Linked DNA regions of Homo sapiens: all the other regions are linked to region 5. The links are contacts of gene promoters, found by promoter capture Hi-C in blood cells and fetal thymus (Javierre and others, 2016). All regions are on one chromosome and are shown on one strand. Each heading gives the region's core, a stretch centred on a gene start or on the middle of the fragment in contact. The rest is flanking DNA. Distances are from core to core; before and after follow the strand shown.

The links. The method cuts DNA at HindIII sites, captures the fragments that hold promoters and counts their contacts. A CHiCAGO score of 5 or more calls a contact.
Region 1: a fragment that was not itself captured here is called in contact with the fragment with the promoter of GHITM in region 5 in 1 of 17 cell types (monocytes); the score reaches 6.0 in monocytes.
Region 2: a fragment that was not itself captured here is called in contact with the fragment with the promoter of GHITM in region 5 in 3 of 17 cell types (non-activated CD4 T cells, monocytes and total CD4 T cells); the score reaches 8.7 in non-activated CD4 T cells.
Region 3: a fragment that was not itself captured here is called in contact with the fragment with the promoter of GHITM in region 5 in 1 of 17 cell types (naive CD4 T cells); the score reaches 6.5 in naive CD4 T cells.
Region 4: a fragment that was not itself captured here is called in contact with the fragment with the promoter of GHITM in region 5 in 2 of 17 cell types (naive CD4 T cells and naive CD8 T cells); the score reaches 8.8 in naive CD4 T cells.
Region 6: a fragment that was not itself captured here is called in contact with the fragment with the promoter of GHITM in region 5 in 1 of 17 cell types (total B cells); the score reaches 7.4 in total B cells.

What each region holds. Positions count from the first base shown.
Region 1 is chr10:86,448,191-86,451,811 of GRCh38, reverse strand. All of the region lies in intron 15 of WAPL (WAPL cohesin release factor), which reads left to right. Among named protein-coding and RNA genes, the nearest start is that of WAPL, 72 kb to the left of the region's middle. The HindIII fragment of the contact is 3,815 bases long and covers 78-3,621 here.
Region 2 is chr10:87,096,075-87,099,785 of GRCh38, reverse strand. It overlaps SHLD2 (shieldin complex subunit 2), which reads right to left. Exons shown (of 10, transcript NM_001330112.2): 2 at 2,797-2,852. Among named protein-coding and RNA genes, the nearest start is that of SHLD2, 2.7 kb to the right of the region's middle. The HindIII fragment of the contact is 450 bases long and covers 2,170-2,619 here.
Region 3 is chr10:86,758,707-86,762,402 of GRCh38, reverse strand. The region is part of intron 1 of BMPR1A (bone morphogenetic protein receptor type 1A); the gene reads right to left. Among named protein-coding and RNA genes, the nearest start is that of BMPR1A, 3.9 kb to the right of the region's middle. The HindIII fragment of the contact is 3,501 bases long and covers 300-3,696 here.
Region 4 is chr10:86,419,098-86,422,440 of GRCh38, reverse strand. No RefSeq gene overlaps it. Among named protein-coding and RNA genes, the nearest start is that of GRID1, 54 kb to the right of the region's middle. The HindIII fragment of the contact is 485 bases long and covers 1,658-2,142 here.
Region 5 is chr10:84,137,824-84,141,447 of GRCh38, reverse strand. GHITM (growth hormone inducible transmembrane protein) reads right to left here and starts at 1,939. Exons shown (of 9, transcript NM_014394.3): 1 at 1,855-1,939. RefSeq lists a silencer at 1,659-1,858 and enhancers at 1,432-2,001, 2,002-2,571. The HindIII fragment of the contact is 9,095 bases long and covers 1-3,562 here.
Region 6 is chr10:86,544,617-86,548,053 of GRCh38, reverse strand. The region is part of intron 3 of LOC105378408 (a long non-coding RNA gene); the gene reads right to left. LOC105378407 (a long non-coding RNA gene) reads left to right here. Exons shown (of 4, transcript XR_946161.1): 4 at 1,998-2,027. Among named protein-coding and RNA genes, the nearest start is that of WAPL-DT, 24 kb to the right of the region's middle. The HindIII fragment of the contact is 528 bases long and covers 1,170-1,697 here.

The sequences.
Region 1 (3,621 bases), core at 736-3,235, 2.3 Mb before region 5:
TGTCTCTGCTGGGGTAGAAAGGGACTGTTTTACACCTGACCAATTTTTAAATATTCACAGCGTCTAGGGTGAAAGCTTATTTTAAACCAGAATTTGTAACCAATTAAAAATGTGGTATAGGCTGGGCGCAGTGACTCACGCCTATAATCCCAGCACTTTGGGAGGCTGAGGCAAGTGGATCACTTGAGGTCAGGAGTTCAAGACCAGCCTGACCAATATGGTGAAACCTCATCTCTACTAAAAATACAAAAGTTAGCCAGGCATGGTGGCATGCACCTGTAATCCCAGCTACTCAGGAGGCTGAGAGGCAGGAGAATCACTTGAACTGAGGAGGTGGAAGTTGCGGTGAGCCGAAGTGGCATGTCACTGCACTCCAGCCTGGACAACAGAGCAAGACTCTGTCTCCAAAAAAAAAAAAAGGTGGTATAATTTCTCTGTAGATCAGTAAGAGGTACACTGCTTAGAATGCATTCTTACTTTATTTTGCTGATTTTTTTTCGACTGTTATAATCACTCCTTAAGCATTGTTACCAAAAAGCAGAGACAAAGGCACATTTGTTCTATTAATGAAATTGGGTGCAGTGGCTTACGCCTGTAATCCCAGCACTTTGGGAGACTGAGGTGGGGAGGATCACTTGAGTCCAGGAGTTCAAGACCAGCCTGGGCAACATAGTGAGCTCCCATCTCTATTAAAAAAAAAAAAAAGTCAAGAATCCAGGCCCATCACATCCACTTCGTGTCCTCTAGTATTTATTTACTCGTCTGATCTGTGTCCAGAACTTTGACCTTATGGACCACAGAAAACTGGAAGTCCTTTGTCACCTGTTCCCTTACCCAGTCTGGAAAGTGGCAAAGTAGCCGAGCATGGGAAATTGTGAATGAGAGTGTTTCTTTGAGCCATTTAAAGTCATTTTTTATTATCCTCTTTTGTTCTCTATTATGTGTGATTGAATGTTGACTATAGATAAGAGGTAGTTAATCCCTAGGCTTTTCTTCTTAGACTCAGAATACTCCGTTTTGACTAGCCTTGAAGTTTTAGTTTATTTAAAATACAAAATTAAATGTGAAACTAGTGATAGATTATCATTACTTATCAGTAACAGTAATAGTAAATGGTAGTAGTAATTTACTATCAATAGTTGATAATAGACTGCTTTTAGTCTCCAGATACCATTTAGAGATTTCATTTAATGCAAAAAACATTTGAAAATGTTTGGCACCTACCGCTTTGATCCCATTGACAACATTTATTTTTCTGCTAAATGAAGCATTTCTTGGCCGGGCAAGGTAGCTCACACCTATAATCCCAGCACTTTGGGAGGCCAAGGTGGGTGGATTGTTTGAGCTCAGGAGTTTGAGACCAGCATGGGCAACATAGTGAGATCCTGTCTGTACAAAAAATAAAACAGTTGGTTGAGTGTGGTGGTGCATGCTCATAGTACCAGCTGCTCGGGACGCTGAAGTGAGAGGATTGCTTGCACCCAGGAGTTTGAAGTTGTCGTGAGCCGTGATTACAGTACTGTGCTCCAGCCTGGGCAACAGAGTGAGACCCTGTCTCAAAAACGTTTAAAAAAAGTATTCTTTTTTTCTGTTCAGTAGACTTGTTTTTAAACTTTTTATTTCAAAATAGTTATAGACTCACAGGAAGTTACAAAAATAGTACAAAGAATCCCTCCCATTTACCCTTTACCTAACTTCCTCAAATGGTGACATCTTATATAACTGTAGTACTATAGCAAAACCAAGAAATTGACATTAGTACATTACTGTTAACTGCACTTTAGACCTTATTCAGTTTCACCATTTTCATCTGCATTCATTTATGTTTGTGTGTAACATATGTACCTCTGTTCAGTTTTATTACGTGTATAGATTCATGTACTCACCACTACATTGAGATATAGAACCGTCACCATAAAAGAATTCCCTTTTGCTGCTCACTGTACAGCCTACCTGCCCTCCCTGTCTCCTAGCTACCACCAACGTGTTTTCTATCTTTTTCCATCTCTTGTTTTATTTTTTTCTATCATTCTAGTCTCTTTCTTTTAAAAATTGACTTTTCTTCAAATGGAACCTAGAAATGAATAAAAACTTACCGTCAGTCGCCTCAGGAGCTGTGTTTGAAGGCACAGATGATAGATCTGCATTATCCACATAATAGGGGTTCATTTGCAGAAGCCATCCCCACACCCTCAGAGATCCCTGTTTGTGAGTTGTTTCAGGGATAGTCTCAAATTTTCCTACTGTGTCTAATTGACCTGGGAATATCACTTCCAGTATTCCTCTTTTGCACTTAGTGTTATAGAAGCCTCTTGTCCTTCAGGGTATCATCCTATATCTTCTCTGTCTTTCTTTTATCTGCTATGGTTTATGGTTTGTCATTTTTAAATCAGTTTAAAGTTTTTGTTTTTCAATTGTAATACCTTTTGGGTGATGGGTTCTGTTACTCATTTTAGAAAATTGTGCTGCCTTGTACTCACATCAGTTACCTTAAAGTGTCAAGAAATGGCTCTTAATTCTGTTATTCAAAGATAGAGTGGAAAAATCCATGTTCAGATTTATATCGTTTATGCTACTGATAACGTTGGCCTGAATCCAGTAATTTTCAAATTACGTATCTTTTCGATAATGTTGTATAAATGGAATCTTACAGGTAGTTCTGATTACTGACATGAACTTTCCTCTTTCTAGCTGTTCTTTTCTTACCTATTTATGGATCTGTTTATTTTTTAAAAACCAAACATAATTCACATACGTAGTGGGGGAAAAAAAGTCAGATCCAGAAAGGTTTAAACTCCACAGATCTATTTCCTAAAACGTTACCATTTGTAATAGTTTTGTGTTTGTCCTGAGAAATTAGTGTTTATGCATATATCAAAATAAATGTGCAGGCCAGACATGGTGGCTCATGCCTGTAATCTGTAATCCCAGCACTTGGGGAGGCTGAGGCAGGCAGATTGCTTGAGCCCAGGAGTTTGAGCCTGGCCTGGGCAACATGGCAAAATTATGTTTCTACTAAAAATTAAAAAATTAGCCAGGTGTGGTGGCATGTGCCTGTAGTCCCAGCTATTTGGGAGGCTGAGGTGGGAGAATCACATGAGCCCAGGAAGTTGAGGCTGCAGTGAGCCATGATCCTGCCACTGCACTCCAGCCTGGGCAATGGGAATAAGACCCTGTCCGAAAAGTAAATAAAAAAATGTGCAATGTGTTTTATATAAATGGACTCTTACTGTACATAGTATTTAGTCTATACCCACTCTTTGCTTAATGTGTCTTCCTGAGCTCTTCATGTCAACACGTAGGTTCATCACATTCTTTGTAATGACTGCAAACTAGTAGCTTTTTGATTTATACATACATACATACAGGGTCTCACTCTTTTACCCAGGCTGAAGTACAGTGGTCCAGTCACAGCTCACTACAGCCTTTACCTCCCAGGCTCAGGTGATCCTTTCACCTCAGCCTCCCAAGTAGGTGGAACTACAGGCACATGCCACCACGTTTGGCTAAGTTTCGTATTTGTAGAGCTGAGGTCTCAAACTCTTGCACTCAAGTGATCCTCCTGCTTTGTCTCCTGAAGTGCTAGGATCACAGGCATGAGCCACCATGCCCTGCCTTAGT
Region 2 (3,711 bases), core at 1,145-3,644, 3.0 Mb before region 5:
TGAAGAAGTAGAGAAATTGGAACCTTCATTCACTGCTGGTAAGAATTAAAATGGTGTAGCCACTGTGGAAAAGTTTGGCAGTACCTCAAAAATTTAAATATGGAAGTACCATTCCTAGGTATAAACGCACCCAAGAGAACTGAAAACATATGCACACACAAAAGTTCACCGCAGCATCATTCAGAATAGTCAAAAAGTGGAAATAATCCAAGTGTCCATCAATGATGAATAGATTTTTAAAATGTGGTACAGTCATACAACAAAAACTATGTAGCCATAACAAGAAATGAAGTACCTGATACATGCTACACGCATAAACCTTTAAAATACTCTGCCAAGTGAAAGAAGACGGTCACAAAGGGCCACATACATCTTTTATAGGAAAAGTCCAGAATAGACTGATTTAGTGAGACAGAAAGTAGAAAGTATATTTTTACCTTTCAAATTAAATTATTTTTAAAAATGAATGGTTCAAGAATTTATATGCTATGTTTTTCTAAATCCTAACAATCTTCTTCTAAAATATTTTTAAGAGAGAAAAAAGCATGCTATGGATCAAGAAAAACAGACCTGGAATTTTAAACCAGCTAAGGAAAACTCTAAGGCAGAAAACTCATTTGACTTTGTGGAATGCTATTGAATGTTCCCTTCAAGCTGAATTTTGGTCTTCGTTTGAATGGGAAATTACTACAAATAATTAAACTTTATTGTGTGAGGCATGGTGGCTCACACTTGGAATCCCAGCACTGTGGGAGGCAGAGGCGGGCATATCGCTTGAGCCCAGGAGTTCGAGACCAGCCTGGGCAACATAGTGAAACCCCACCTCTACCAAAAAGACAAAAGTTAGCCGGGAGTGGCGGCAGGTGCCTATAGTCCTAGCTACTCAGGAGGCTGAGGTGGGAGGATTGCCTGAGCCCAGGAAGTCCAGGCTGTGGTAAACTGTGATCGTGCCACCGCACTCCAGCCTGGGTGACACAGTGAGACCCTGTCTCGAAAAATAAAAATAAAAAAAAACCTTACTTTGCAAATTATCTGTATATTTTACAAAAGCAATCATAAATCTAAAGTTGAAATTCATTAGACTTTATATCACAGTAAATAATTTCTAACTAAATGGAACAAATACTTAAAATACTCCTTGGAATAGTATAAATAGTATAACTTTGGAGTCAGATACACAGGTTTGAATCTTACCCTATTTACAAGCTTGGTGATCATCAACAATTTGTTTGGTTTCTGTGGGCCTCACTCCCTGTTTTTTTTTTTTTTTTTGAGATGGAGTTTCATTCTTGTTACCCAGGCTGGAGTGCAATGGCGCAATCTCAGCTCACTGAAACCTCCGCCTCCCAGGTTCAAGCAATTCTCCTGCCTCAGCCTCCTGAGTAGCTGGGATTACAGGGATTCACCATCACACCAGGCTAATTTTGTATTTTTAGTACAGATGGGGTTTCTCCATGTTGGTCAGGCTGGTCTCGAACTCCCAACCTCAGGTGATCCGCCCGCCTCAGCCTCCCAAAGTGCTGGGATTACAGGTATGAGCCACCACGCCCAGCCACTCCCTGCTTCTAATAAATCAGGAATTATAATACCTACAGTGTGAAAAGAAATACTCCAAATATTCACTAAATGGGGGAAGAGATGGATAATTTCATTCTGTTTTTCTAAAATCTATTTCTGCTGTTCATATTTTTTTAACAACTTGTATGTAATTTTAAAACATAATGACCAGGTGCAGTGGCTCAACACCTGTAATCCCAGCACTTTCGGTGGCCAAGGCGGGCAGATCATTTGAGGCCAGGAGTTTGAGAACAGCCTGGCCAACACTGTGGAACTTCGTCTCTATTAAAAATACAAAAAAATTAGCCTGGCATGGTGGCGGGCGCCTGTAATCCCAGCTGCTCGGGAGGCTGAGGCAGGAGAATCACTGGAACCTGGGAGGCAGAGGCTGCAGTGAGCTGAGATTGCACCACTGCACTCCAGCATGGGCAACAGAGCAAGACTGTCTCAAAAAAACAAAACAAAACAAAACCATGATGATTTTAAAAATAAAAACATCTGTTTTATAGGGTACTCATGAAGCCAGTTTGTAAGGCACCTACACACAGGAGATTCTCAATTAAAAAAAAAATAGTAATTTCCACAGCTCTATTCCTCACCTCTTCCAAAGCTTCTTCAATTCTGCCTTTCCTTTTTTGAGATGAAGACTCGCTCTGTTGCCCAGGCTGGAGTGCAATGGCACGATCTCGGCTCACTGCAACCTCTCTCCCTGGTTCAAGTGGTTCTCCCAAGTAGCTGGAACTACAAGCACTGCCCAACCCCCTCCCCGCCACCACGCCTGGCTAATTTTTGTAGGCCCCCCACCACGCTTGGCTTATTTTTGTATTTTTAGTAGAGACAAGGTTTCACTGTGTTGCCCAGGCTGGTCTCGAACTCCTGACCTCAAGTGATCCGCCCACTTTAGCCTCCTAAAGTGCTGGGATTACAGGCGTGAGCCACCTCCTTAGGCCCAATTCCACCTTCTTGAATTCAGGTGAACAAGTCACAGAAGAAGCAAAGTTAAACATTTATTTTTCTGAAGGCTAAGGTTATAAAGAACAACAAAAACAATAAAACTAAGCTTTTAAAGATTTTTCCTCAGAACATAAACAAATAATTTAATCCAAAAAGAAAAATATTTCCATGTTTACTGATGCTAATCATTTTATTCTGAAACTCCGTGGGTTTTTTGCAGGAGTGGGGGATTGCAATGTAAGAGAGTAAAACGATAATACATCCAGAAAAAAGGAAATTTGATACCTTAATCTTTTGACCATCAAGGAAAATTCAGGATTCAGGTCAGAGTACATTTTTCACTGAAAAACACAGTGCAAATACAATTAATGACAATGACTTATTTAGCAAGTAAGGTAAAATATAAGTTCCACCTGTATGAAAAGATAATTTTGACTTTGAGAGTACACTTAGATGAATGTCATTTAACAGATCCAGGTTGTCACCTTATATTTTACACAATATTTCGAGAACTAAGAACTTTCTCTTCCATATTCTAAAAGATGAATAACATGAACATATCGGGAAGCACCATCGTTTTGCAGGTCCAATGGGTGTCATTTTAAAACCACCCAAGTACACTGAGACCGCTAACGCTAGTAATGTGGTGTTTGGCAGCTAGTTTTAATGACTGTCATTAGAGCTTTATTTTTTATTTTCTTTTTATAGAGACGAGCCCAGGCTGGTCTTGAACTCCTGGCCTCAAGCGATCAGCCTGCTTTGGCCCCCAAAGTGCTGGGATTACAGGCGTGAGCCACCGTGCCAGCCTCGTTAGTTTGAAAAGCACCAAAAGCTATCCATAGGAATGTGAACTTTAGCATTTCCTATCAAGTATGTATAAATACATAACTGAACCCTCATACAGCATAAAGCTTATAAATCATATACTGAGGCCAGGCGCGGTGGCTCACGTCTGTAATCCCAGCATTCTGGGAGGCCTAGGCGGGCGGATCACTTGAGGTCAGGCGTTGGAGACCAGCCTGGCCAGCACAGCGAAACCCCGTCTCTACTAAAAATGCAAAAATTAGCCGGGCGTGGTGGCGCGGGCCTGTAATCCCAGCTACCCCGAGGCTGAGGCAGGAGAATCGCTAGAACGAACCCAGGGAGGTGGAAGCTGCAGTGAGCCGAGATGGTGCCACTACACTCCCGCCTGGGCGACAG
Region 3 (3,696 bases), core at 801-3,300, 2.6 Mb before region 5:
TGGGAAACATAGCAAGACTCCGTCTCAAAAAGAAAGAAAAAAAATTCTCAATGCTGTTTTAGGCTCTTTGCTAGACCATACAAGGAGTTCTCGATACGAGGTCTATAACCTATAACCTGTAATTCTATAACCTATAACCTATGTCTTCCTCTGCCAGATATATGCACCTGCCTGAAATGAGACCACAAAAGTGAAGAACAGAAAAGACAACCTCAATTAATTATATCATTTGAGCACTTAGGTCCAGCCATGTCTATTTCTAGACCTTTCAATATCATGGGGGTTAGTGGGGAGAAGCTTTTCCCTCCTTTAAGCTAACTTGAGTTAGGGCTGTCACTTGTAAGCAAGAGTCACTTGAGAGAGCCACCCAATTCCCACTGTTGGAATATAAAATCTATACAGCAATGACTCCCAAATGCCTACCTCCAGCACAAACCTCTGTCAAACCCCAGACCCATATAGACAACTGCCAAGTGGAAATCCCTACTTGGCTGTTTCAGATATCTCAAACTCCATGTGATCCAATACTATTTTCTTCTACAAACCAGCTCTCCCACCTCATTTTTCATATCTGTCACCCACATCTACCCTGCTTTCCAAGCTAGAAATCCAGGAGTTGTTCTTGCCAATCCCATTCCTTCTCTCATCCACGCTAGTTATCGCCTCCTATCCATTCCAGGCCCTAATTATCTGCCACCATCTTAACCCATTTATGCCTGAGGCTGCAATTTTTTGAATTTTTGCAATCAGACCTTGGTGATGACCTTGAGCAGGATATAAATAACTCCCACGTGCTTAGCGTTCCAATAGTGGAACACTAGGCATAAATGGGTTTAATCCGGGCTAGGCCAGAAAGACCTTCCTACAAGTTTGAACATCTTCAGTCTTCCTTTCTTCAAAATGATTTTCCAACATGTAACTAATCTCCCTAACTGCAAATGTGATTATAATATTTTATCCCTATCTCTAGCATACTCCTGTCCTCCTTCATAAGTCAACAGCCAATTATATACAGCTGGATCAAGAGCCAAGCTCCACTGTTCCAGACTTTAACAGTATAACAAATCTGTGCCATAAGAAAGGAAGGCTCATCAGAAATATAAAACTATAAAAGAGTAACAAAGTCTACAACATCAGAGTAAATAAAAGATACTCAAAGATAATTTACTCATCTATTCAATGTCTACTCATTAGTTATATATTAAACTGCCCATACGAACTGGCTTAGGGACCACAGGGGCCACCCTGAGATGGAGTCTACTGATCATCTGATCTCCCTATGCCCCTAACTAGTGTTCTTTTCAAAAAACACTACTGGGGATTTCCAGGCACATCCAAGAGCTTTGATTAGGGAGAGAAACACTATTCATCAATTCTAAGATGCATCCATTTTTCATATTTTAGCATCTCCGGAATTGGGGTGCACCTTACAATCAATGGCTTCTTACAACTAGAAGCATATTTTAAGTGGTCTGTAACACTACTGTGTATCTTACAATGGACATAACTCAATGCAAGTCAACATTTAATCTTGTGTTAAAAAGTTGGTCCAACTTGGTCAATATGGACCTTGTGATGTTAAAAAGACATCCTAAAGCCTAAAAACTAGTAAAAGGTGGGAAAGTAGAAAAGGAAAAGAAATGGTTCCTACTTCAAAATTTAGTGTGATAGGAAACCCATTTTCCTTTCTCTCCATGGTTCGCTGCTCCTAAGATCCAATAGTCAGATCAGGACAGTTCAACAGCTACTGTTAGGCTAGACAGGAGCCTTTCCCCATTTATTCCTTTTAATATGCAAGAAAAGTCCGTTACAGACCCACCCTGCAAACTAGTAGTGAAACTAATATTTGTATAAAAACTGCTATAAAGGCCAGCCACAGTGCCTCACCTGTGTAACCCCAGCACAGGGAGGCTGAGGCGAGCGGATCAACTGAGGTCAGGAGTTTAAGACCAGCCTGGCCAACATGGCAAAACCCCACCTCTACTAAAAATACAAAAATTAGCCAGGCGTGGTCCCAGCTACCTGGGAGGCTGAGGCAGGAGAATCCCTTGAACCCAGGAGGCAGAGGTTGCAATGAGCTGAGCTCACGCCATTGCACTCCAGCCCAGGCGACAGTGCGAGACTCTGTATCAAAAAAAAAAAAAAAAAAAAAAAGAAAGAAAGAAAGAAAGAAAGAAAAAACAATAAGGTATTAAAAAAAAAAAAAAAAAAAAACAGGTAAATCTGAGGCAAATACCACAGAAAATATTTCATTTAATGGAAGACCTAGGAAACTTCTGAGTGGCGAAGTGGTAAGAACTGGGCTTACAGATTAATTTAGGCAGAAATACATAAGATTAGATAAAGGAGAAAAGTGAAGGCAAGAAAATCATAACATTAGTCCAGGTGGGATGAGAACTTGATTTAGAGTTAGGGGGTGGGGGTGGAGTCGCGGGGTGGTGGGGGGAGAACTACGTGAAAGCCAAATAACACTAGATTTGAAAATAAATTCCTGAAAAAAATGTGAAACATTAAAATTCATATGAGAATCAGAAAATCGACACAAACCAACAGCTATTAAAGAAATTGAAGTGTTACTCAAAGTCCTCTCCAGAAAAAAGATCTAGGCCTAAATGGTCACATAGGGGAGGTCTTCCAAACTTTCAAGGAACAGATAATCCCAGTCTAAAATGATCCTGAAAAAGAGAAAAAGAAGGAAAGCTGCCCAACTCGTTTTATGATTTGACTACTACCTTCACACCAATATGAATTCAGAATTGCCCCACAGTTAGCAAGAATAGAGAGCAGAAGAGTTACAATATCATAAAGCAGAATCAACAGATGTTGGCTACAGACAAGATATGATGAAATGGGAAAAGGTTTGGGTTTGGTATGACATCAACAAAAATAAAGAACACCAAAGAGGCAAGTTTGCTAAGGAAAAGCAGCTCAGAACAATCAGGTACAGATATGTAGAAAGCAACTGAATAAAAAAGAAAAAACAAAACAAACAAACAAAAAAACGTGATTCAGAAGACACATAAACAAAGAATTGAGAATTATTCCAACAGAAAGGTCTGAACAATCATTCTAAGGGACTAGAGACATAGAGAAAAGTGATCTGAAAAGTGAAACTTGGAGAACGCATATTAAAGAGGAAAGAAGAAACAGAAGGCAGAAAAGTGGCGGAGAGGAACAAAGTCAGTATAATGTCACAAAAGGCCCCTCTTCATCTAGTTAATAGTTAACTCTTGCTCATCCTTCACAATCTGCCTGGGTTCCAACAAAGCAATTTTAAGGTATCTTTCCCAGATTCTCCCACCACCACAAGCACCAGATCAGGTCTCCATTTGAAGTTCTTATAATATTCTGCACCTTAATTAAAATCACAATTATATTTAACTAGAGACTTTATTTTTCAATAAGTATTTCCCCACTAGACTTTAAGCTCCATGAGGGAAGGATCTGTTGTATCTTACTGCCTTGGACCCTGTGTTAGAATACAGCGAGTATAGATGAATGAAACCCAAGGAGAGGCATCTGAAAATGTGAAGTCGATGTTAAATCTTACAGAAAACTCAAGGAGAGGACTTAGAAAAAGGTAGTTAAATGTGTTGATTAGGTTATAGTTCCTTGTGAAGGTGAAATCCAGATAACAAGGGGTTAAGAAATGAGTGGCTAGCCACCAACCAGGCAAAGGCAGGAAAAGCAGACTAC
Region 4 (3,343 bases), core at 651-3,150, 2.3 Mb before region 5:
ATTTTTTGTATTTTTTGTAGGGACAGGATTTCACCATTTTGTCCAGGCTGCTTTCGAACTCCTGAGCTCAAGCAATCCACCTGCCTTGGCCTCCTAAAGTGTTGAGATTACAGGTGTGAGCCACTGCCCTGGCCTGTTTGTCAGTTTCTTAAACACACACTTTGTATATCACCCATACATTTCACTGCTAGGTATTTACTGAAGACAAACGAAAGCACATTGTCATACAAAGACTTGCTGGTGCTGGATGTTAATCATGGGGGAGGCTGTTCATGCTGCGGGCACGAAGGTACCTAGGAAATCTCTGCACCTTCCACTCAATTTTCCTGTAAAACTAAAACTACTCTAAAAAATTAAGTCTTATTTTTTTTTTTTTTTTGAGATGGAGTCTTGCTCTGTGGCCCAGGCTGGAGTGCAATGGCTTGATCTCAGCTCACTGTAACCTCTGCCTCCTGGGTTCAAGTGATTCTCCTGCCTCAGCCTTCTGAGTAGCTGGGATTACGGGTACATGCCACCATGCCCAGCTGATTTTTGTAGTTTTAGTAGAGACAAAGTTTTACCATGTTGGCCAGGCTGGTCTTGAACTTGTGACCTTGTGATCTGCCCACTTCAGCCTCCCAAAGTGCTGGGATTACAGGCATGAGCCACCACAGCCAGCCATAATTTTTTTTTTTTTTTTTTTTAAATTAGAACTAGGCTGAGCGTGGTGGCTCACACCTCTAATATCAGTATTTTTGGGAGGCCGAGGAGGGTGGATCACTTTATCCCAGGAGTTCGAGATCATCCTGGGCAACATGGTGAAACCGCATCTCTATGAAATATACAAAATTAGTCGGGTATGGTGGCATGCAACTGTAGTCCCAGCTACTTGAGAGGCTGATGGGGGAGGATCAGTTCAACCCAGGAGGTGGAAAGTGCAGTGAGCCCGGATTGAGCCACTGCACTCCAGCCTAGGTGAAAGAGTGAGATCCTCACCCTCAGGTACTGCTTTATAGCAATGCAAAACAGATGAATGCACCTTCCTATAAAGAAAACACTTGGCCCATTTACTTTTACTGGTGAGTTTTCCAACATTTTAAGAAAAAGGTAACAACGGTGTTATACAAAACTCTTTAAGGAAATAGAAAAAGAGGAAATACTTTTCCAACCCATTTTATGAGACCCATTTGTCCCTGACACCAAACCCTGACGTGGACATTGTAAGAAAGAAAGATTGTACTGTAGTCCAATCTTTCATGGCTTGGACGTGAAATGCTAATAAAAAGTTAGCCAGTAAATTACAGCAATATATAAAAATGTGGCTGGGCGCGGTGGCTCACACCTGTAATCCCAGCACTTTGGGAAGCCAAGGCAGGTAGATGACCTGAGGTCAGGAGTTTGAGATCAGCCTGGTGAAACCCTGTCTCTACTAAAAATACAAAAATTAGCCGGGTGTGGTGGCACGTACCTGTGATCCCAGCTACTTGGGAGGCTGAGGCAGGAGAATTGCTTAAATCTGAGAGGTGGAGGTTGCAGTGAGCTGAGATCACGCGACTGCACTCCAGCCTGGTTGACGGAGCGAGACTCTGTCTCAAAAAAGAAAAAAAAAAGTGAACACCTCACAACCAAGTTGCCTTTATATTAGGAAAACAGCCCATCATCTGTGTGCAAAAAAGCTTCTGCACACCCCTGATCTCAGCCTGTGGCCTCTTCTTTTCCCTCCCTCACTTCTTGGTGGTCTTAATGGCTTGGAATAACCCATAAGACCACCAAGACTCATGACTTGGAACACCACCTATGTGTTGATGACTCCCAAATTTGTAGCTTCAATCCTAACATTTTCCTAACTGTACACATCCAGGCGCCCATCCACCCTTTCCCCTTGGATGTCTTACAGGCATCTCCTAACTCCTGTCGAAACTATACTCTGAGACCCTCCCAAACAATCTGTATGTAACCCATGAGACTTTCATAGCTCAGTTCCCTTCATTGAGCTCCTAGGCACCAAACATGGAACAATTTTGACACCACCTCCCTTTATATAATTCATTTATTACCCTCTCACTTCCATTTCAAATTATGCCCAGAATCTGACTACCTCTCACCGCCTCTTCTCACTGCCAGATAGCATATTTTTATTATGTATCTGCTAGCATGTAAGCTTCATGAAGGCAGGAGCTTTATGTCTTTCATTACTGCTAAATTCCAGTGCCCAGAACAGGGCCTGACACATAGTAGGAACCCCGTCAATGTAATTTTTTTAAATGAGACAGGGTCTCACTCTCTCAGGCTGGAGTGCAGAGTCGTGATCACGGCTCATTGCAGCCTTGACCTCCCCAGGCTCAAGCAATCCTCTCATCTCAGCCTCCCAAGCAGTTAGAACTACAGACATGTGCCACCACCCCAGCTAATTTTTTGGTGTGTTTTGTAGAAACAGGGTTTGCTATGTTGCCCAGGCTGCTCATGAACTCCTGGAGTCAAGTGATCCACCCACCCGGTCTCCCAAAGTGCTGGGATTACAGGCGTGAGCCACCATACCCAGCCCCCTTCAATATTTTTACAAATAATGACCTATAGTGTTTTTAAATACATCACACATCTTAAAAGATTGATACCATCTCCTTTGTAAGGATGTTGAGCCACAGGTGCACATTCATAAACTGTGTGTGAGTGTAAATTGTTACAGCTTTTTAAAAAATAGACTTTATGCCGGGCATGGTGGCTCATGCCTGTAATCCCAGCACTTTGGGAGGCCGAGGTGGGTGGATCACGAGGTCACGAGTTCAAGACCAGCCTGGCCAACATGGTGAAACCCCGTCTCTACTAAAAATACAAAAATTAGCCGGGCATGCTGGCTCACACCTGTAATCCCAGCTACTCAGGAAGCTGAGGCAGGAGAATTGCTTGAACCAGGGAGGTGAAGGTTGCAGTGAGCTGAGTTCGAGCCATTGTACTCCAGCCTGGGCAACAGGGCAAGACTCAGATTCAAAAAAAAAAAAAAAAAAAAGACTTTATTTTTTAGAGTAGTTTTAGTTTTACAGCAAAATTGAGTGGAAGGTGCAGAGATTTCCCAGGTATCCCTGTGCCTGCAACATGCACAGCCTCCCCCATGATCAACATCCTGCACCAGTGTCGTGCATTTGCTACAATCAGTAAACATGACACATCATTGTCACTCAGAGTCCAAGTTTACAGCAGGCTCACTCATGGCCTTCTACGCTCTGTGGGTTTGAACAAATGTACAATGACATCTATCCACCATGTTAGTGGCATGCAGAGTACTTTCACTGCCCTAAAAATGTTTTGTACTCCACCTATTTATCCTCCCTCAGTGTGACAGCCTTTTTAGAGGTCAACTTGAGGG
Region 5 (3,624 bases), core at 690-3,189:
AGGCAAAACCAACCAAAAAAACATAAGTAAAACAACCTACTAACCAATTAAGAGAAGGACATATGAGAGTCAGAGTCAAGGAACAAACTATTTTTTAGTAGAACAGGAAATAAAGCGACCTTTTTAATTTTCAGCGATGAATTCTTTGCCCAACCATCCACTGTAATGCAAGAAACCCATCCCAGAGAACACAGCTGAAGATGGAGGAACAAACTAGGTTTAAGTCCCAGTTTGACCAATCAAAATAGATGACTGCAAAAATTATGTGTAACACAGAACGGCTGTTAATAACTGGACGTGATTACAGAGTCTGTGATGGTTTTTACAAATGTAGTTTTGGCTTAAGATTTATACCAGCATCCAGTGGGAAAATTTAAAAGAATCTACATAACTTTTGGGCAAAGGAATAGTGTCATCCAAAGAAGACATGAATAGCTCTTCAAGGTTATACTGCATTACAAAGCTAAAAGGTATTAAAAGAAGCCAACTATATGAATTTCAGCTAATCATACCAAATATTACTTTCCTTCAACATGAGATATAAAAATATTCTAAGTTAACCTATTCTATATGTCCTACTATAATGCGTAAAGGACATTTAGTCTTTCAAAGTAAACAAGTAAACTCAGTTACCAACCAGGTTTCCCTTACATTAGACTCCCTCGATGGTGTCTTCAAAAGAAAAGCATGCTAAAAACTGGATTATCTTAGCTCCAGGGCACATTATACTAGATGGGTGGTCAACCAGAAGTCAGCAGACAGTGTTTCTGTAATGCTAAGGTGAGGTGACTACAATAGGTCAGAATGAAATGACGAGTGTAAACCAACTGGGGCTACCAGCCCATCTCTGCCAATGATTTGTAGTGAATTCTAGGCAAGTGATATACTTCTGGGCCCATTTCCCCATCTGTAACATAAGGATTCCGTGTTCAGACTACAGCGTTGACCCTTAGACTACCTGCTTGAAAGTGCCCCGGATGCATCTTAAAATGTAGGCTCCTGGGTCTTTCTTTGCTCCTAATGATTCTACCCCTAGGAATAAGACCAAGAACGTGTGTTTTAACGAACACTCCAAAAGCTAAGAACTATTGCTTTAAGATACCCGAGCGTCCTCCGAGCTCTGCAACTGAACTATTAAGGGTCTTAAAATTCGGCACCCGGCCTTTGGGAAAACACCCAGCGCTTTTGGAACTTTCGTGCCATTACATCATCTCAACCTATGGCTGTCCTGTATCTTCCTCAGTACTCAGTCCACTGGTTGGGGCCGAAGAGGTCCAGCTCAGAGTGACCTCCATGTGGCGTAACAGCCCAGAGTGGGAATCCCGCTTCTGACAGGTTAGAAGTGACCTTGTGAGGAGTGTGGATCTCTAAGACTCAGATGTCGTTGCTATAAAATGGGGAAAATACTACCGACCCTAATCCAAGGGCTTATGCCTCCGTGAGCATTGATGAGTTTGGGTGCCTGGTCCCCGAGAAAGTTCACCCAGCCCGCTAGATTCAGATGAGAACCCGGCAGCAAACTTCCCTGTCAACCCACAACACCTCTGCCCCTGCCCCAGGTGCCGCTACCAGCGCAGCGGCTGTACGGCCTCGCCGCAAGGATGACTCAGCACCTTGTTGCCCGAGGACAGAAGCACAGCTACACTGAGCCCTTGCCCGCCTGACCAGGGCCTTGTGCCGCCGCCCTCTCCACCAGGTCACCCACAGGACTGCGACCCCAACGCGCAGGCCGGCCCTGACGCAGCCAGCAGCACCGCTGCTTCCAGCCCTTCCCCCCGCACCCAGCGGTCCCGTGAGGGCGGCTGTCAGGACCACCGGGGATCCCGGGCGCCCGCCGGCCAGCCGGAGCAGTACCTCGGTCCCCGGTCACCTTCGCCTCGCAGTTTCCCTTCCGGGCCCCTAGCGTCGGCCTCAAAGAGCACAGTTCCTCCGGCGCACTGCATGACGCAACATCGAAAGGACGTAAATAGTACGAGCAGCCAATCACGGGCAGGCCTCTGTCGGAAAAGCGGCCACACTGGGGGAGGCGGGGTTCCGGGTTGAGGAGGCGGGGTTCCAAATTGGTGGGGCGGGGCCAGTTGAGGATTGTTGCAGGGAACGTCATAGTCAGCGTCCATTTTGCGTGTGGGCATGGGAGTCGTCTCGGCCATCTTTGTTTTGGGCAGTGGAGCTCTGTTTTGCTTTTGTTTTAGTCGTTTCACTCGCCGCAGCTATAAGAATTATGTAAAAATTGAAAGAAAGTAATGTTAGAGTTAAAAATTATTCCGTTTATTCCGTTCCTTTTTGAAGGCCTTTTTGTCCCTTAATTTATCGTGAGATAAATATCTTTTCAAATGTGTCTGCTTCTGAGCCGAGTCATCCGGTTTCTGGGGTCTCATGCCAAATGTTAGATGGTGACATCCAGAAAAGATTTTTTCTAGATGGTTTTTTCATTGCTTTGTGACTTTCCCGCCCACATTTTCAAGTTTCACCCTAAACCTGTGTAATAGGCCTGATAACAGCCGCCTCTGCCTTGCACCCAGGATTGCTCTGAGGACTAAGATGTTTCCATTGCGCGTAATTTGATAGGTGAAGAGCTAGTTGTGGAATACGCGAGAGAGTTACTTTCTTTTTCACTCTCCCTCTATTTCAACAGATATTTACTGAATGCTCAACTTCGTACCAAGCTCTGTTCTAGAAATATATACAAATGAATCAGCCGGGCGTGGTGGCTCAAGCCTGTAATCCCAGTACTTTGGGAGGCCGCGGCGGGTGGATCACTTGAGGTTAGGAGTTCGAGACCAGCCTGGCCAACGTGGGGAAACCCTGTCTCTACTAAAAATACAAAAATTTGCCAGGCGTGATTGGTGCCTGTAATCTAAGCTACTTGGGAAGCTAAGGCAGGAGAATCACTTGAACCCAGGAGGCGGAGGTTCCAGTGAGCCCAGATCCCGCAACTGCACTCCAGCCTGGGCGATAGAGGGAGACTCAGTCTCAAAAAAAAAAGAAACCAAAAAAACAAAAACAAAAAAACAGCAAATGAATTAAACCCGTGTGTGCTACCACTATTTTAACAAAATAAAGTCCTTGCTCTGTGGCTTTACTTTCTGGTAGAGACAGAACATAGAAAAAATATAATGTGATAACTTAATACCATGAAGAAAGAGCAGATTAAAACCCTGAAAGGGTGATAAGGTGATTAACAACATGCAAAATTCATGAACCTTTATCTCCTAAGCAGTAGTTAATTGTGATTTATGATTCCTAATCATGTAAACCTTGACAAATATAAAGACTTGCCTTCTATGTGGATAATAAAAGAGTCTGGCAGCAACACAATTCTTATCTCTTTACGCTGAAAATGGCAGGAAAACACTAGAGAAATCTCACGAAACTGAACAGATCAAGCATGATCAGTTTAATTTTTATTTTGATCTATGCCCAATTTTATTAGCTAGCAAATAGGTTTTCTGTTTGGCTCCTTCAGTGATAGTCTTTTTTTCTAGAGCTTCTGTTATCAGCAAAGAGAAAGGATTTACAACACAGTACCAGAATAAAGATCTTGAAGTCAATGACTCAAGCTTTCTTCAAGATTCCTATTAAAGCTTATTCTCTCCATATTGGAAGAAAAATGTCTGATTTCAT
Region 6 (3,437 bases), core at 184-2,683, 2.4 Mb before region 5:
CTTCTTAGTACTGAAATCTGTATTAATGTGGGTTCCCCAAGTAAAAAGAACCATAAATAAATAAATATATATATATATATGGTGTGTGTATATATAACATATATGTGTATATATACATATATACATACATATACATATATACGTTTATATATATACATATATATACATTTGTGTGTACACACACATAGAGATTTATTTATTTTGAGACAAGATCTGGCTCTATCACCCAGTCTGGAGTGCAGTGGTGCAATCTCAGCTTACTACAACCTCTGCCTTCTGGGCTCAAGCCATCCTGCCACCCTCAGCCTCCCTAGTAGCTGGGACTACAGGCACAAACCACCATGCCCTGCTAATTTTTGTACTTTTTGTAGAGAGGAGGTTTCACTGTTTAGCTCAGGATGCTCATGAACTCAAGCGATCTGCCCATGTCAGCCTCCCAAAGTGCTGAGATTGCAGGCATGAGCTATCATGCCCAGCAAGAGATTTATTAAAAGGAATTTGCTCACATGAGTATAGAGGCTGAGAAGTCCCAAGACCTGTAGTCAGCAAGCTGGAGCCCGAGGAAAGTTGATGGTGTAAGTTCTAGTTCATGACTCAGTCCAAAGACAGGAGAAGACTGATGTCCCAGGTCACAGACAGTCAAGTAGAAACAGTAAAGTTTATGGATAAGTTCCACTCACATTGGAGAGGGCCATCTGCTTTACTAAGTCTACTGGTTCAAATACTAATCTCATCTGGAAACACTCTCACAGACATACCCAGAATAAAGTTTTTGTTTTGTTTTGTTTTGTTTTGTTTTTTTGAGATGGAGTCTTGCTCTGTTGCCCAGGTTGGAGTGCAGTGGCATGATCTCGGCTCACCACAACTTCTGCCTCCTGGGTTCAAGCGATTCTCCTGCCTCAGTCTCCCAAGTAGCTGGGACTACAGGTGTGCGTCACCATGCCCGGCTAATTTTTGTATTTTTAATAGAGATGGGGTTTCACTATGTTGGCCAGGCTCATCTCAAACTCCTGACCTCCTGATCCGCCTGTCTTGGTCTCCCAAAGTGCTGGGATTACAGGTGTGAGCCACCGTGCCAGGCCCCCAGAATAATGTTTAACTAAATATCTAGGCAACCCACGGCTTAGTCAAGTTGACACATATAATTAACCACTACAGGCCTACAAGCTTTTTCCAGATTAACTGTGCAGTGGAGGAAAAAAATAATTTTATCTGAGATTATGGGACACTATAATGAGCTCTAACTCTATTTTCTGGGGATCCAGAACACCTCTTTGATCCACTGGTAGAAATTGAGTTTATGGTGATCAGGTGACAAATGGTGTTTTAGCTTGATTCTGAGGCACTATAGGCTTTCCCTGTCCCAATGACATCAGGCCTGGAGATACGCCAGATATCAGAGACCAGAAAGGCCAATTGTGATATAATGTGTTACTGCCCTGTGGAAAAACCACACATCCATCCTCCATAGAGGGCAGACTTACTTTGGTCAATGCAATGTGAGCATCAGTGACATGTCACTTCTGAGCAGAAGGTTTAAGGCAGTGTGTGGTTTGCCATCTCTCTTTTTCCTCTGGCAACATCTAGATTGGGCCTACTGTCAGCCTGGGTACGCAAATAAAGATGGCCTGAAGCAGAGCTGAAGTTACTCCAAGATGGACATACAGTACGAGAAAGAAAAATTTTCATTGTAAGCTTCTGACATTTGGGTCATTTGTTACTTCAGTATAACTTAGCCTAAGCTGACTGATACATGCTCAAAACCATTCTGGAGTTATTCCCACTTTCCTGAATAGCCATATATAGCTATTGTGAGAATCACAATACCCCCTTAGTTCATGCAATGAAGACATCCAAGTGGAAACCCCTGGAGCTAATTATCTATGCCAAAATTGTAAATCAAAATCAATACTGAATTGCTGGGAGAATCACGAAGATTCATGGTGGTTATTTGTGTCACAACCCATTCTATTCATGTTTGATCATTGTCAATATAGGCTGGACACAGTGGCTCAAGCCTGTAATCCCAGCACTTTGGGAGGCCGCAGCGGGAGGATCACCTGAGGTCAGAAGTTCAAGACCAGCCTGGCCAACATGGTGAAACCCTGCCTCTACCAAAAATACAAAAATTAGCTGGACATGGTGGCACGTTCCTGTAGTCCCAGCTACTCGGGAGTCTGAGGCAGGATAATCACTTGAACACGGGAGATGCAGGTTGCAGTGAAATGAGATCATGCCATTGCACTGCAGCCTGGATGACAAGAGTGAAACTCCATATCAAAATAAATAAATAAATAATTGTCAATATATTTATGTCTCATTTCCCTAACTGTATTATTTTGTTCACTATTCCATATATATTTTGGAGTAGGAATCACGCATCAGGTGCTGTGCAGGGTCCTGAGGGTCACAGAAAGAATAAAGCCAGATTATCCCGCCCTTGAGTAACTCAATCTAGGTAGCACTTGCCTGGATGTGTATTGTATAGTGAGCTAGATGAATATTGTTTATATAGTGAGCAGTGTTTAAATAAAGTTAGAATTAGTTGGCAACATTTAAAAATCAGGAGACTTCACATGAAAAGCTAGATTAATCATTTCTTTTGAAATATGGAAAGATCTGGCAGTTCTGGGTCCTCTCTGTCCCACGGCTATTGTCAGCTGGAGGGGAGCATCTGTCATCCCTTTTGGCAGGGCCTGAGTTTGCCCAGTTCCCTGCAGGCCCCACCACCCCCTCCACCACAGAGAGAGAAGGCACACCTTGGCACAGGACCAGTTCCTGCCCTTCCAAACCACATGGGTGGCTTTGCCTTTACATGGTTGTTGCAAACAAAACAAACAGTCCTAACTGCCAGTCATTTAAAAAGGAATAGTATCCCTCGCCGGATTATTAGGGGGGCATGGTGGCAGGCGCCTGTAATGCCAGCTGCTCAGGAGGCTGAAGCATAAGAATCGCTTGAACCCAGGAGGCAGAGATTGCAGTGAGCCGAGATCGCACCACTGCACTCCAGCCTGGGCAACACAGTGAGACCCTGTCTGGAAAAAAAAAATAGGATAATATTCCTCTTTCTATGTCAGGAATACTGGATGCACTAACAGAGGTGGATGCTCTGAGGCTCTGAGGCTTCAGTCTGCAGGACCTCCCCTCAGCCCATCTTCTTGCCAGGTACTAGGTAGTTCATATTAAAACAGATGTAGCTTTTAGGCTAAGTGTGGTGGCTCATGCCTGTAATCCCAACATTTTGGGAGGCTGAGGTGAGTGGATTGCTTGAGTCCAGGAGTTTGATACCAGCCTGGGCAACATAGTGAGACCCCTGTCTCTACAGAAAACAGAAAAAAATAGCCAGCCAGCCTGGGCAACACAGTGAGACCCATCTCTACAAAAAAAAAATATAAAAATTAGCTGGGCATGGTGGTGCATGCCTGTAGTCCCTGCTA